3 separate regions of the Homo sapiens genome follow, and regions 2 and 3 are each linked to region 1. Evidence: promoter capture Hi-C in 16 types of primary human blood cells and fetal thymus (Javierre and others, 2016). All regions are on one chromosome and are shown on one strand. The core of a region is centred on a gene start or on the middle of the fragment in contact, and the rest is flanking DNA. Distances in the headings are between cores, read along the strand shown. Region 1 holds the start of MYLK4 (myosin light chain kinase family member 4). Region 2 has its middle 5.9 kb from the start of FOXC1. Region 3 has its middle 48 kb from the start of FOXCUT.

The links. The method cuts DNA at HindIII sites, captures the fragments that hold promoters and counts their contacts. A CHiCAGO score of 5 or more calls a contact.
Region 2: a fragment that was not itself captured here is called in contact with the fragment with the promoter of MYLK4 in region 1 in 6 of 17 cell types (naive B cells, M1 macrophages, total B cells and 3 more); the score reaches 9.4 in naive B cells.
Region 3: a contact is called between a fragment that was not itself captured here and the fragment with the promoter of MYLK4 in region 1, in 2 of 17 cell types (total CD4 T cells and non-activated CD4 T cells). The highest score is 6.8, in total CD4 T cells.

What each region holds. Positions count from the first base shown.
Region 1 is chr6:2,749,512-2,752,211 of GRCh38, forward strand. MYLK4 (myosin light chain kinase family member 4) reads right to left here and starts at 1,411. Exons shown (of 13, transcript NM_001012418.5): 1 at 1,225-1,411. The HindIII fragment of the contact is 6,360 bases long and covers 1,080-2,700 here.
Region 2 is chr6:1,614,462-1,617,161 of GRCh38, forward strand. No RefSeq gene overlaps it. Among named protein-coding and RNA genes, the nearest start is that of FOXC1, 5.9 kb to the left of the region's middle. RefSeq lists an enhancer at 1-400. The HindIII fragment of the contact is 486 bases long and covers 1,176-1,661 here.
Region 3 is chr6:1,556,045-1,558,744 of GRCh38, forward strand. No RefSeq gene overlaps it. Among named protein-coding and RNA genes, the nearest start is that of FOXCUT, 48 kb to the right of the region's middle. The HindIII fragment of the contact is 1,494 bases long and covers 683-2,176 here.

The DNA.
Region 1 (2,700 bases), core at 161-2,660:
GAGAGGATCCAAAATCAGGAAAAGAAATACTAACATTCATATTGAGTTTCCAACATTGGAACTTTAAAAGGAAAAAAAATTTTTTCACTTTAAAACTACAAAAGCAAACAGTAAGAAGCAATGTCAAGATTCACTGGTGATGAAATATGCTCCTTATTGCACAAAACAAGCCGTAGATCAAGTGGCCAGCTTGGATGTAAATTATAAAGTATCTTTGGGTTTAATTGGAACCGCAGGTTTTGCAGCCCCGTGGGAAGGGCTTATCACAGAAGGGGTCTCTCTGCTTCCCCTGGCCTCCCTCTGCAGAGGGATCGCTCCCGAATGAGTCCTTTTCCAGAACTCTTCTCTACCTATGCCTTAAAATGTGTGGTGTTTATTTGTGAAAAGAAATTTATTTCCTTACAGTCTTCTCACGTGGACAGCACTCCCAGATACCTTTCCTTGCATCTGCATTAACAGCTATGTACCGAGAAGTTCAGAGTCTTTTCACTCTCCTTAAAATACTTTCCTCGCAAATGAAGTAATGCAGCATACATAATTCGCTTTGATACTAGAGACATATACGCATGTCTATATGTACACATCACTTGATTGCATAGAGAGGCAGGGAGAGGGAGAGACATTTGAATTTGTGCTAGTTCCGCATGGCTGACAACTGAGGCCCCCTGGTGGAGATTTTCCGAAAAGCGCCTCTTCGAGCATTTTCTCCGCTTAAAAACCGTATTGTGATTCTCATCAGAAAACTTAATATTTTGTTTTGTCAGTTCCTATAGTAAAATGATACTCTTGAGTTCCAAAGTGTTTAAAATTCACTGCTCTAACAAATTATACTTATCCACATAAAGAGCTTACATTCAAACAAATAAAAATGCAAATATTAATACTATCAACCAGAGCTCTACAGATATATTACAGATCATTCTTAGCATTCTTTCAAATTGCCCTGAAAAAATTATTAAAATAAGGAAACAAATGCATGGCTATTTCTAAGGCAAACTACGACTAAAATACTATGGTTAATTGCAGATGAAACTCAAGTTGGATCAGGAAGCCACACAAAATTAATGTATTAAAACAAAAGCTTAGGATTAAGATACAATAATTTTGCAAAGAAATATTAAACATTAAGCTCTACCTGAAGTTTGGTACAATTTGTTATTGAAGGTAACTTAGAAAAAAGGGGAGGAGATTTGAGAGGTTATAACAATAAACAAAGATAATTACCATTGATAGGATCACATCGAAGAGCTTGAGCCACTCCAAGTCTAGAGCATACATTCCAGAAGATAAAGAGAAATTTTGCAGAATTCAAACTGACTATGAAAGTCTCTGGTAAAAGTTTTGACTCTCAGTCGTATAAATCTTCTGAAAAGACAAGTGTCCACTACGAGAGGAAGTATCTTCTCTCTCAAATGCCACTTTCAGCCCCTGTTTAAATTAATATGGCTCTTGATCTCACGTTGCTCAGCTGTTGCCTTCTTAGTCAGATGGGGAAGAATATTAATTTTAGACACCAGGCTTTTCAAGGCCAATGGCTCCATTTCAGAGGTCAGGTAAGGAGAGGATGAACCGGGAACACTGGATGAAATATCACCTTCACCTTTCCCTCGTATCATTGTGTCAATACTCTCGGATTTACAAAGCTAGATTTGTCCTCGGCAATCATCTGCCTGGACCTTCTGCCCCTTTCAGACTCAGGATTATTTAAGTGCTCATTAAATTTCCCCCAGTAGGGAAAATGCCAGGTGTGGCAACCCCACAGCCACCTCTGTTTGCCCATCTTACGCTTTGAGCATATCCAACTGCAATATAGAAGATCTTCTGAAAGCAGTTAGCAAGTTTGTTTTATTTTTCTCAGTTCTTAAAGATGTTTGCAAAGTCTCCAACCATTTCTAGCTCTAGGGAAAGGTCAAAGGCACAGGCATCCAGGAAACAGGAATAAATTTTTCATAAATTCTCCTTAAGCAACACTAGGACTTCATCCGTAGTTTTCTGCACAGACCAAGAAAGGGGAATTTCAACCCACCTGCCCGACTCTCACAGTAGTGCATCCCTAGATTCACTGAAGTGGCATAAAACTTTGATTGCCCAGAGGCTGGACTTTGCAGTCTTGAAAACCCTGCAATTTTTCAGGGCCTGGCCAATTGTCACCTCTTATTTGGAGCCTGTGTTAGCCCCTCTATGCCCCATTCTAACACCAGCCTCTGCTGCTCTTCTGCTTCTTTTAAAAAAAAAACCTTATTTTTAATTCAGATCGATGCATTCCATGTGAAATAAAAATACATATTTTTCCATTTTATGTAGTATTAATGAATTACAGCAAAATCTTTTTTAAAACACAAAACGCTTGTTATTTTTCAGATTGGAGAGCTTTGTTCTTCAGCAAAAGTAATGAAGTGGAACTATAAATTTGTGGAGATAAATTATCTGACAAAAGTATTATACAAAGACTAAGCTGGTTTGAGGTTACCAATTTTGTTAGTATAATTAAATTGTGTAGAAGTACTGATAAGGCAACAAATGCCCTGCCAGAGGCAAGATGTGTGTGGGCTGCTGCTGATCCAACCACATCCTCCACCCGGACCACCACCACGCAAAAGCAGACTTCCTATCTCGTTGGCTCCAGCAAACCAACCACAGGCTTGAGTGAGCCAGAGGCCAGGAGAATCTGCTCCTTAGCTTATTTTTTTGTAATAAACT
Region 2 (2,700 bases), core at 169-2,668, 1.1 Mb before region 1:
CGCGCCCGCCCCGACGCCGGCCTCCTGGACGCCGCTCGCGACGGCAACGCTCTCCAGCTAATGAGCTGTAATTACCCGCGGCGGCGCGGGGCCCGGCTTCGGTTTGCGTTTGGAGCTCCTTCCTCCCCACACCCCCCTCCCCAGATTAGCCCCGGCCTCCGCGGCCTCCTCCTGAAATTAGTCGTTGGAGAAAAGCGAGTCAAAGGGAGACCCCTGTTAGTTTCGCTGGGTTCCTCGCGGGCTGGGTCGGGGTGCCGGGAAGCGCGCGCTGAGGGAGGGTGGCAGGCGCGCGGTGCCGGGGACGGGGACGGGGCGGGGGGCGCCGAGCCGGGAGAAGCGCCCTCGGGGCTCCGGCCGAGAAGCTCGGAGGAGCCCGCTCCCTCGCCCGGTCACCCCGCGTCTCCGCCTGGCGCCGCAGGGCCCCGCCGAGCTCTCACTTCCTCCTCGCTGGCCTCCTTTGTTGTGAAGACGCACGTGTGTTTAGGAGCGCAGCTGGGGTGGAAAGGTCAGAGGCACTTCATTGCTCACGGGTGACAGCTCGCCCCGCGCCGGCCCGCAGCCTCCAGGCGCGGGACCCGGAGCTGCGCGTTTGCAGGGCCACCCCCGGCCCACCCGCCTCGGCCTGGCCGCACCAGACCTGCCCGGGCCGGCGCTGCGGCCCCAGGCGGCCTCCCCGGCAGGGCTGCGTCCTCGCGCGGTGTGTGAGGTTTGCAGAGGCCACCAGTCGCTTGGCAGTGGCCGTGCGGGGAGTCGCTCGGCCTCAAGGATGCCAGAAGCCCTCGGGCGAGCTGCAGGCTCAGCGTGTTCCGAGCCCACGTGCCTGCGACTCTCCACTCTCCTTGGGTCTCGGCTTTGCGGCCCGGAGGAGGTGGCGGCCGCAGTCAGCCCCGGCCTAGGCCCAGGTCGGCAGTGGAAAGCTCGGCGGGCTTTTCTGCACCGTTCCCAGCGGCGGGAGCGAGCTGGGAAAGAGTCGACCCGCTCCCGGCTGGGGGCCCTGCCGAGTCTGGCCTGCCGAGGAGTGGGCCGAGAGCAGCCCCTGTCCTTCCTTGCGGGGCTCCAGTCCCAGCTGCAGGAGAGGAAGCGGGTACGGGGCGAAGCGCGGTGCTTCGGTTTCCGTGGCCAGCGAGGAGCCCCTGGCCCACAGGTCGAGAGTGTTTATAGGCGTGCGCGAGCAAAGCTTCTTAGCAACTTGCTTTACCCTCTTCTATTCGAATGTTTGAAAATTAGGCATGAAACACACATGTGTCTAAGAAGGTGTTTGTGTTAAACATACATGACGTAGTCATTTCTGCACTCGTTGCCTGTGCAAGTTTAGAAGCTATGTTGAGTGGAAGGAGAGAAGTTCTGCTCATTATTCGGATTTTAAAAACCACATCTAGGTAATGTCTCCTACTATCAGTACATTACCTTTTCGATTCTCACACCCGATTTAAGAAAACCAACTTCTGCCAACCTTATTTAACGTGGCACTACTTATTCCTTAGAGGTTTGCACGTTTGGTTTGTACTGTTTTAGGAATAAGGATAATTTTCCTGTGAAATATTCTAAGAAAAACTCCTTGATAGTTTAACTAATAGCCAGTACATTTTGAAATTAGCCTGTGACAGCAGTCCAGATCCATGGCGGGGAATCAGCTAATTTTTAAAATAGCCTCTGTAAAAAGCTTTAGGAGAGTAAGTATTTTGTCCTTTATGCAGAAATGGGCACATTTATTTTAATAGCAATTTATGCCACGACTACACAAATGCCAGCATGCCACATGCCATAGGCAGTCTTGCATTTGGCATGTTGCACGTGTGGGAGGGACCGGTGCTGACTTCTCCAGGGTTGTGTAGTTAGCAGACCTTTTTCTCCAGACTGAGTGCAAACAAGCATGCATTTTACAATTTATTATTCCACAAAATTTGTGTCATTAATAATCGATGCTTGCAAAGGAATAGGGCTCGATTGTACTGGTGGCCTGTAAGCTCCTGGCTGTTTCCTGCCGGGTCAGAAACAAGGGTCAGGAAACAAGAGTGCCTTATAGTCCTATTGGGCTCTCCCTAACTTTGATAGGCGAGGAAAGGACATAGGGCAGGGGTCTCCGTTTCTAAGGCGGAATGTCATTAGTTTTGTTCTTAATGGTGCAAAACCCAAGAGACTCTGAACCCTCTGCAGGTGGAGGCTGCCTGGACAGATTGCCCAGGAGGGACAAGAGGTATCCATACTTGATCAGGCCTCAGGCACCCACACCAGTGTTCTCTGAGGCTGTTAGTGGCACCCAAAGCAAGGCCAGTTGGAGTGACAGTTTCCCTCTACTCCTGCCCCACCTCTGAGAGCTCTGTGAGAGGGGCTCTCATTTGCGAGGCCACCCCCCCCTCCCCCAACCCCGGCCATTTGCTTCAGAGCTTAGCTCCGAGTCCCCTGCTCCTTGGGCCTGCCTGGTATTGCAGGGCCTTCTCCACTACAGGCATTTCATGGACAGTTCATGAAGCCATTAGCCCTTCCCACCCGTCATAAACAAATGTCGTGTTAGGGGCAAGATTGATGGTGGCCAAGTCATAAAGCTGGCCAGGCAGGACAGAATATGATTGTGTGCGGGCAGCCATTCTTCAGCCAAGCAGAGAGATTGGGGTGTAGGACCAAGAGACTGTGTCAGTCTTCCCCCCACCCATCTGAGGGGGGAGCTCAGGAGAGCTCCCGACAGGGAAGTTTAATTTA
Region 3 (2,700 bases), core at 180-2,679, 1.2 Mb before region 1:
GAATAATAAAACCAACGCTTTCTCTAACAACTTGTGTGACATGTCCCCGAATCAGCATTTAAGATTTCGAACTAAAACGTAATCCGAAGAGATTCCTTAATGGGAAGGTTGGCAAACTTGCCAAGGACATAGACCTGTTCCTGTTCTTACTTCAGCTGGGCTTTCTTTTAATGAGTGGATTGCATTATACACTTTTTTGTTATGTTTTGCATTCACATATGCATAAAATGCTTTTCACTAGGAATCAACCAGATATTAAAAGAACGTAAACATATTCTGGCCATAAATGATAAAAGCTGCATTTGTAGACATGCTCAGCATATCTATTATTGGCCACTGGGTCAATGTTGAGAATTCCCAAAAGAAGTCCCCACCTACATGGCAAAGCTGATGGAGCCTACAAACCGGGAACATCGTAAGTATTAACCATCCTGAAGTATATTCTCTCTTACAAGACGTTGGAAAAACAAACGATGGGCATCTAGAATGACAATAGCTTCCTACTCCTCCTGCAGTTAAGAAAGACAAACGCTGAGAACCGTTGGAAAGGCAAACAAAATTGTATGCGAAGGTCACATTCAGCCAGAAGAGGTGCTCCCAATTACGTTTACTTAAAGGGAGAGGTCCAGACACATTTTTGGTATCCTCCTTTAAAAAATGTTGCAGTCCTTAAAATTTGGTAAGCTTCTGTGACTAAAAGTATCTTTACTGCTACCTAAAGTATGTACATATGTGCATGTTTAAAATCCCTTCTTTTCATCATTTTCAGAGACACTATTTCAATTTCCTGCCCTGAAACATGTGGAATTTCATTTTAAACAAAAGTCTCCTTTCAGGGACTTGCAGGCTTGGTGTGGCTGATTGGTGCTGGAGGCCGCTCAGGACGCAGTTTCTCACCTCGTCACACATGACCTCAGACATAGCAAGTGCCGTGCAGAGTGAGCTCTTGCTCTTCAACTCAGATGATAACCAGAAGCCTGGGCCGTGTCTTCCACATTCTCTATAGCTGCTGCATGGTGCCTGTATTATCTTTTTTTTGTTTGATTGTTTGTTTGTTTGTTTGTTTGTTTGTTTGTGGCAGGGTCTCACTCTGTTGCCCAGGCCGGAGTGCAGTGGCATCAATCCTAGCTCACTGCAGCCTCAACCTCCTGATCTCAAGCTATCCTCTTGCCTTGGCCTCCCAAAGTCCTGGAATTACAGGCATGAGCCACCATACCCAGCCCATATTATCGTTATAATACACACAGGGATCCCAGGAATGAATAAGAGCTAGTACATGTAGAGCATATTCTATGTGCCAGGAATGTATTATTACATGGAATCTCTCACAGCTTTGTGGAAGGTAGGGACTGAAATTGCCTCCATTTTCCACCTGAGTACACTGAGGCTTATAGATGATAGTTACTGGGCCCGAGGTAAAGGAGCCCAGGGGTCCAACCCGGCACCATTATGCTTGGCATTATATTGTTTTCTTTTAATAACTGCCTTTAATTAATTAATCAGGCACATTATTCTTCCCTTAGACCTGTATGTAATCGACAGTCAGTAAATGAGAAATAAGAATGATGGTTGCAAAGCCAAATAACACCAATGTGCTCAGATAAAAGAGTTTTTAAAATTTAGTTCATACTGAAGACCTTTCTACAGTGAGTTATTCCCAGAGTTTTACAATTAACTTATCAATTGAGACTATAGGCCAGGTGCGGTGGCTCACCTGTAATCCCAGCACTTTGGGAGGCAGAGGTGGGCGGAGCACTTGAGGTCAGGAGTTCGAGACCAGCTTGGCCAACATGGGAAACCCTGTATCTACTAAAAATACAAAAATTAGCCAGGTGTGATGGTGCACGCCCGTAATCCCAACTACTCAGGAGGCTGAGGCAGGAGAATTGCTTGAACCCAGGAGGCAGAGGTTGCAATGAGCCAAGATCACACCACTGCACTCCAGCCTGGGCGACAGAGCAAGACTCTGTCTCAAAAACAACAACAAAAAAAATTAAAATTAAAATTAATGAATATAAAAAATAAATTTAGACTATATTTCAACTTAACTCATAATGAAACATTTCAGCATTTATTTATGTCAGGTTAAATTAAGTCTAAATGGATCATGAAGTCTTTATGCTTCCCCTGAAAATGAAAAACGAGGGCTACATAATTTTTACATGTGAAAGATTTAAGCTTTACAATGCCATATAACAAAAAGATTTCCCATTCCAAGACAGTGTTCCCAAGGAAATTAAGCTTTCTTTTCTCCACCATGATAGTTTACTCAAACAAACAAACAAACAAATAAACTAAACTTTGAAAGAATAATAAGTTTAAGAGAGTGGGAGAATGAATGAGTTCAGGCTTTTATGTAATTGTCATTCCACCAAGGGGGTTCAGGCAGCGTCAAGACAGTTAGACTAGGTAGTCTTTATTGCCTCTGTTTGGGTGGTTTGGATCTGTGTCCCCGCCCAAATCTCATGTTGAAATGTGATCCTCATTGTTGGAGGTGGGGCCTGAGTCACGGGAGAGGATATCTCATGCGTGGTTTAGCACCATTCCTTTGGTGCTATTCTCGTGACGGTGAGTGAGTTCTCTCAAGATCCGGTCGTTTAAAAGTGCGTGTGGCACCTCCCCGCCCCCTGCTCCTGCTCCCACCGTGTGAGACATCTGCTCCCTCTTTACCTTCTACCATGACTGGAAGCTTCCTGAGGC